2 separate regions of the Homo sapiens genome follow, and region 2 is linked to region 1. The links are contacts of gene promoters, found by promoter capture Hi-C in blood cells and fetal thymus (Javierre and others, 2016). All regions are on one chromosome and are shown on one strand. The core of a region is centred on a gene start or on the middle of the fragment in contact, and the rest is flanking DNA. Distances in the headings are between cores, read along the strand shown. Region 1 holds the start of TBC1D7 (TBC1 domain family member 7). Region 2 has its middle 40 kb from the start of CD83.

Region 1 (3,755 bases), core at 904-3,403:
ACCCAGGAAGTGTAGGTTGCTGTGAGCCAAGATCACACCACTGCACTACAGCCTGGGCAACAGAGTCAGACTTGGTCTCAAAAAAAAAAAAAAAGAAAATCATGACCAGAGTTATCGCAAATTTACCCAGAAGCAAATTTACCTAGATAATACATGAAAACATATGGGTTCAATAAAAGAAAAAAATACTACTGACTTTCTTAAGAAACCTTTCAAAAACTTCTGACGCTCAGTGAAATATAAATTTGAAAAATCTTTTCTCAAAATACACCATTCTGCTTCACCACATCACTAAAAAATACAGCAAGTAACCAATGCTTCTGGATGTCTTTTAAGAAAATATTTACTTCAGAACATGTGGAGTGATTGAGAACCAATGAGATTAATTTTTAAAAGTACTCACCCAGACGGTCATCTTTTAGGAGAATTTCTAATGATTTCTTTTCTTCAACTCCACGAAACCCCACTTTCTCATAATATACTGAACGAAAGTTTCTCTGAGAGTCCTCAGTCATATTTCATTCTTGGAGGAGACACAGAAAGACAGAAAGGGAGAGAAAGACGAAGGGGAAAAGTGAGTCTAGAAACAAAGAGTCAAGAATTAGAATAATTTTCAATGATGTTCTCCACCTTTTCAATATGATGTACCCTTGCATAGGACCCAATATTAAATTTTTCCTTTAACTCAGTTCTGCAACTATCTCACCTATGCATCTTGGCTAAAAACCAAGATATAAGTTAAAAGTTCTCTGAGCTGATAAAATAGATGGCACAAGGTTTATGCACTAGGTTTCCCACTATACCTATGAGTGCCTAGCACAATAGAACATTCTGTAGCTATTATAAATGCGCAAAGAAAAAAAATAAGTGAAATGGAAGCCAGGCAAGATACGTCAAGCAAATTATACTCAAACAGTATACACTATGATTTCATTTTTTGTTTTTTACAAATTTCATGTATTTTAAAACTTAACACTCTATTCCAAAATGTTAGCAATGGTTATCTTTAGATAGTAGGATTCTAGATGATTTTAATTTCCTTTCTTTTGCTTAGCTACTTTTTTTTAAATGGGCATTTTGTAAAATGAAAAATTAAGTTATATAAAAGTAAAAAGCCACGAGTTCCTCACTTATCTTTCTTTTAAACACAATTCTATTAAGTGTAGCTATCGAAATTCAAAACCCACAACAAATAAATCGCATTAAATTATAACTAGAAGAGGGTAAAGAATGTAGCCAATTGACAGTGATCCCAAAGTCAGAGTTGAAGACGGAAAAACGATTTAAAATCTACCGCAAGAACTCAAAAAGTTCAGTGGTCTCAAGTTCCTTCACAGTAACCTTCATAATACTGGCGGTAATTCATCCAAAAAAAGACCAAGTTAGATTTGGCGTTTCAAGAACAGAAAAGATCTGATGCATTTCCCAAAAAGCACTGCACTGCCTCACCCAAATGCTTCCAGCGTCTGTGCACAAAAGAGTAAATCTTTAGGTTTAAAAACCCTGCGACGTCCCCAGTGAGCAGGGGAGGGCTTCCTTCCTTATTGAAAAGATATCCTCTGAACCGATTCAGTCACAGGAAAGATTAGGATTCGTTTAGAAAATGAAATGCTAAAGGGCTCTGAGCTTTCGGGAGCAGATGTCTTAAAAATAAAAAAGTCAGCAGCATAAAACGCGTAATGAGTGTGGGGATTTATTTTTTTAAAGCATCCAAACAGCTGCATGACGATTTGGTCGGTCCCTGTTGTCTAAGGACACCCATTCTTAGATTGCACTACAATGACAAAGGCGTCCTCTAGGAGGAAATGCTGCAAATAATATCTCCTGCCCATGCGCGTCCACCTGATGGGAAAAGTAAAAACACCCTGGTCCAAGACCCCAGGTCCCATTCTCTCTATGATGGATGCTTCACCTCTAGTAGTGCAAACACACCCGGGTTGAGACTAAGTGGTCCGGGAGAAGCAGAGGAAGCCGTGCCCTGTGCGCTGACCGACCGCCGGGCAGGCGGGCACCGTTGGGGCCCAGGGCCAGGAGGGACGAGTCCTGCGGGAAGGAGGGAGGCGGCGGGGTACCTGGGACACCCGCGCGCGCCCAGACGGCCCGGGAGACAAAACTCAGCGCCGCTGCCGCTGCCGCTGCCGCCGCCGCCGGACGTGACATCAACTCCAGGTCGCCGGGCGGGCGCCGGGCGGGCGCATGCGCAGAGGGCGCGGGCAGGAAGCTCCACCCTCACTCCAGGAAGCTCTGGCTTCGTTTGTGAAACCCGACGGGATGAAGGGCTAGGCTCGCCTCCAGAGTAGTGTAGTTTCTCCCGCCGTGGGCACCCGGCCCCTTGCTACCCCGCAAAATCTCGCGACCATTTACTCTGGCCATCCGAAGGCGCGTGCCTGGGTTGCACTCCCGTGTCCGGCCCTCGAGGTTCTTGCCTAGGGAAGACCCGAGCCCTAGGGCCGTACTTAAGCTGCCTGCGTGCAGGACCCGGGTTTTGCTTTTGCTAATTTCCTCCCCACCCCAGGTATGTGGGAATAGATGAAGACCATCCGAATGAGAAGAAAAAAGGCAGGCAGAGGAGTGCAAGTCTGATTTAGAGCAGGCAGGCTCCCTGGGTTGGTTATTGTAGGTAACTGACTGGTTTTCTGGGCAGGTTGCTGCAGGTTGTGGATTGGAGGTCTATTTTTATATTAGATTTGGCCATTGTCTTAGTATATTCAGCCTCTCAGGTAAAACACTATAACATAGGAGAAAAATGAACGTGTTTTTTTTTTAAAAAAAGATGTGCTAAATGCAAGCTCCTAATTTGTTATTAGTAGGTCTAACAGAACAGAGTTACTCTTTAAAGTAGCTACTAACACTTACAAATGCTTTCTATTTCTGTGCTTGCCTCCCTGGTCCTCGGGCTGGCTGAGCAGCAGTGCCCAAGTAGGTTTTTAAACCGCCAGGGTTTGAGAGAAATCCCCAATGATGGGTATCGTCCCTTTGAAAGTTCAAATCTCTACCAAATAAGCCACACGGATGCCAAGCTTTGAAGGAAACTTAGGACTATCAACAGTGCAGAAGTCCAGTTATAGTGCAGACAAATGTGTGTATAATGGCTAGACAGAACTTAAAAATGAAGAAACGTGTGGTGGTTGAACTCAAACACTGATGCCCCTCCCCACTCCCTTACCACCACCATCTTTAGTTCCTCAGTACTGGGGTACTAAACCTTCCTTGGGTAGTGTTCACATGAGTAAGCAGAGTTCTTCAAGTTACCTTACACAAGTTCCATTTACTTCATCTAAACCTTGGGCCGGTCACTAACTTTTATAATTGCCTTTTCTTGTCTTTAAAATCATCACCAGGGCTGGGCACTTACTGTGTGCAGGCGCTGTTCTATGGACTCAGGATACATCAGCTACCGAAGCAAAGATCCCTAACCTTGTGAAACTGACATTCTGGTGGGAGGACAGATCCAATAAAAACTAAAATAAATAAGTCAATGATGTAGTGTGTTAAAAAGTGATCGGTGCTGGCTGGGCGCCGTGGCTCATGCCTATGATCCCAACACTTTGGGAAGCCGAGGCAGGCGGATCACCTGAGGTCAGGAGTTCGAGACCAGCCTGGCCAACATGGTGAAACCCTGTCTCTAGTAAAAATACAAAATTAGCTGGGTGTGATGGCACACACCTGTAATCCCAGCTACTCTGGAGGCTGAGGCAGGAGAATCGCTTGAACCCGGAAGGCAGAGGTTGCAGTGAGCTGAGATGGTGCCGCCG
Region 2 (3,755 bases), core at 453-2,952, 750 kb after region 1:
TACAAAATACAAGTGAATAAAAATAGAAAACAATCCTTCAAAATCGAAAGCAAAGTGGAAAAAAATTAACCTTGTTAATTTCTTAACTTCTAATCACTTTTGTTGAGCAAATGGGTCAACCACATATAAAGGAACTATTTCATATGGCTTTCAAGTACTGTAATATAAATACATCCCCAGTGGATTATACCTTAATGGACCAAACAACTATAAATAAATTTTAAATTGTGTTCAATAATACTACTTATTAATTATATCTTTATTTGGTAATAATATTGGTATTGTTCATTTGAAACATATGTCTGTTTATATATATGTGCAAATATATATGCATCATAATTATGTTAAAGTTATTAGGAACCAAGATTTTCAGTTTAAAAAGGTTGCAAGCATAAAATTAAACAATTTACATACAAACCCTATAACTCTAAATTTAAGTTGACAATATTGATATGAACTCATGATATATCTTCTCTTATAAAAGTATTTCTCCTACAAGCTCATGCTTGTAATCCTAGTACTTTGGGAGGCTGAGGCAGGAGGATTGCTTGAGGCCAGTTCAAGACCAACCTGGCCAACAAGCAAGATCCCATCTCTAAAATAAAATAAAATTTAAAAAAAGTATTTCTAACCACTGTTCACTAAATAATCTGGCAATGAGCATTCTTAGCACTCAGATATTTGACTCTAAATGCCAATCTCCAATAAAAGAAACCAACATTCTTTGGACAAATAGCTGATTCTAGGTTTGGGACAAGAAGTGAACAAGGTGAACCCAGAGCACATTGATTTACTAGAAAGCAAGGAGATTATCAAAGCCTTTGGAGTTGCATCATAAGAATTCTGGATTGGGAGGCTGAGGCAGGTGGAGCACCTGAGGTCAGGAGTTCAAGACCAGCCTGGCCAACATGGTGAAACCCTGTCTCTACTAAAAATACAAAAATTAGCTGGGTGTGGTGGTATGTGTCTGTAATCCCAGCTACTTGGGAGGCTGAGGCAGGAGGATTGCTTGAACCTGGGAGGCAGAGGTTGCAGTGAGCCGAGATTGCACCACTGCACTGCAGCGTGGGTGATAGAGTGAGACTTCAACTCAAAAAAAGAGAGAATTCTGGAACCAACTTGAAGGGACTCTCACTGGGCAAAGATGGAACATTTTGAGCTTCAAAAAGAATAATAACTACAGCAAATAGAATAACTTCAAGGAATCATGTATGTTAAAATCCACAAGTTAATTATAATACTCAAAAATCGTCCTCATTGTTCCCTTTTGGAAGATGCTCAGAAACCAAGTCATTATTTTAAAAGCCAATGAAGAAAATGAGTGAATGATTTATCCTGTCTTGCCTGTGTGAATTGTACTTCAGGGTTAGCAAGCAGTTGTTACAAGAAAGTTCTTTATGCAAGAATTTCAGATAATAAATGCCAGAGAACTAAGAATTTTAAATCGCATTTTTCAACCTCTAATGAAATAATGGAATCAGGCACTGATCAGCAATGGCTATTGATGCCATTATATGAAAAGCTGATGGAAAGCTTTATATGGTTGTGTCAGAGGCATTGGAACCGGAGAGACTCCATCTTGAATAGGGCTGGGTAAAATGAGGCTCACACCTGCTGGGCTGCATTCCCAGGTTAGGCATTCTTAGTCATAAGATGAGATAGGAGGTTACAAGATATGGGTCATAAAGACCCTGCTGATAAAAACAGGATGTGGTAAAGAAGCTGGTCCAAACCTGCCAAAACTAAAATGGCGATGAAAGTGACCTCTGGTCGTCCTCACTGCTCATTATACACTAATTATAATGCATTAGCATGCTAAAAGACAGTCCCACCAGTGCCATGACACTTTGCAAATTGCCATGGCATGGTCTGGAAGCTTCCCTATATGGTCTAAAAGGGGGAGCAACCCTCAGCTCCAGGAACTCCCCACCCCTTTCCCAGAAAACTGATGAATAATCCACCTCTTGTTTAGCATATAATCAAGAAAAAAAGCCATAAGTTTACTCAGTCAAGCAGCCCATGCTGCTGCTCTGCCTATGGAGTAGCCATTCTTTTGTTTCTTTACTTTCTTAATAAACTTGCTTTCACCTTACTCTATGGACTCACCCCGAATTCTTTCTTGTGCAAGATTCAAGAAACCTGTCTTGGGGTCTGGATCTGGACCCTTTTCCAGTAACAGCTGGATGAGGGCGACAGTTCTTGAGCCTGTGACCAGTCATAACATCACAAAAAAGGAGACACTCCTTCCCATGCTGGCTAGCTTTGGTGTTCCTTGGCTTACAGATGCATCACCCCTAGCTATACCATAATCTCCACATGACATTCTCATTAAAGTCCTTCTGGTGTATTCTTGCTGAAATGGCCAAACCTGAATCTGGCCATGGGATTAGGTCTACCACCCAGTTTACGGGAAACACAAGAGGACAGAGAAGCATGTTACAAATGGGATCATATGGAAGAAATCAGCAAAATCCAGAAGAAACTGGACAATGTCCTGGATTCTTCAACAACTACATTGCAAGTAGATAAAAAGAGAAAGAAGGAAACTATTATGGGTTTAATTGAGTCTTCCCAAAGTCTGTATATTGAAGTCCTAACCTCCCTTAATTCAGAATGTGACATTATTTGGAGATAGGGTCTTTGCAGAGGTAATAAAGTTGAAATGAGGTCACTAGGGTGGGCCCTAACCCAATATGACTGGGGTCCCTATAAGAAAAGTTTGGAGTCAGTTACAGATGAGGAGAATGCCATGTGGAGATTATGGTATAGCTAGGGGTGATGCATCTGTAAGCCAAGGAACACCAAAGATTGCCAGCATGGAACGGAGTGTCCCTCCCAGCCCTGAGAAGGAGCCAACTCCACCAGCCCCTTGTTACAGACTTCCGGCCTCCAGAACTGTGAGATAATCCATTGCTGCCATTTAAACCACCTGGTTTATGGTACTTTTTTTTTTTTCTTTTGTTCTTGAGACAGGGTCTCACTCTGTCACCCAGGCTGGATCAGTGGGGTGATCTCGGCTCACTGCAACCTCCACCTCCTGGGTTCAAGTGATTCTTGTGCCTCAGCCTCCCGAGTAGCTGGGATTACAGGTGCACGCCACCACACCCGGCTCATTTTTTTGTATTTTAGTAGAGACAGGGTTTCGTATGTGGGTCAGGTTGGTCTCGAACTCCTGGCCTCAGGTGATCTGCCCACCTTGGCCTCCCAAAGTGCTGGGATTACAGGTGTGAGCTGCCGCGCCCTGCCAGATTTGTGCTACTTTGTTACAGCAACCCTGAAACCGCCTTTGCAAAATTATGACTGAGACAGTGAAAGAGCTCTAACTTAACCAACTCCATCTTGCTTCTAACCTCCAAGCTGTCCTTGTTCATTCCTGGGTGTAGGCTGAATTAACTTTGAGAGAAACTTAGTTTATAGTTTAAACAAAGACTTTAACAGCTCTTTGCCAAAGCAGTCCTCCTTCTTGCCTGGGGACTAGATTGCCTTTGTAGGACTAACATTAGCCACAAGATTAGAAATTATGGTTTAGGAGTCACGCAGCTGGAGGCTACAAGATCCTGACAGTCCCTAAACTGCTCCTAAAATCAGTGCTTGAGATATTTGGCAGACCCTGCACTTGATGGATCAGCTGGCACAGCTGGCACCGCCCAGATGGATAAACTGGCTCACCTGATCTTGTGGCCCCCACCCAGGAACGGACTCAGTGCAAGAGGACAGCTTTGAGTCCCTATGGTTCCATCCCTGACCAATCAGCA

The links. Contacts are between HindIII fragments. The CHiCAGO score rates a contact against its expected background, and 5 or more counts as called.
Region 2: a contact is called between a fragment that was not itself captured here and the fragment with the promoter of TBC1D7 in region 1, in 1 of 17 cell types (non-activated CD4 T cells). The highest score is 5.7, in non-activated CD4 T cells.

Annotation. Positions count from the first base shown.
Region 1 is chr6:13,326,384-13,330,138 of GRCh38, forward strand. It overlaps TBC1D7 (TBC1 domain family member 7), which reads right to left and starts at 2,154. Exons shown (of 8, transcript NM_016495.6): 1 at 1,913-2,154; 2 at 404-523. The coding sequence starts at 515. TBC1D7-LOC100130357 (TBC1D7-LOC100130357 readthrough) reads right to left here and starts at 2,154. Exons shown (of 9, transcript NM_001318809.2): 1 at 2,073-2,154; 2 at 404-523. The coding sequence starts at 515. It overlaps LOC124901261 (a long non-coding RNA gene), which reads left to right and starts at 2,232. Exons shown (of 2, transcript XR_007059457.1): 1 at 2,232-2,515; 2 at 3,342-3,474. RefSeq lists a silencer at 1,970-2,359 and an enhancer at 1,993-2,499. The HindIII fragment of the contact is 4,199 bases long and covers 1-3,018 here.
Region 2 is chr6:14,075,786-14,079,540 of GRCh38, forward strand. No RefSeq gene overlaps it. Among named protein-coding and RNA genes, the nearest start is that of CD83, 40 kb to the right of the region's middle. The HindIII fragment of the contact is 343 bases long and covers 1,532-1,874 here.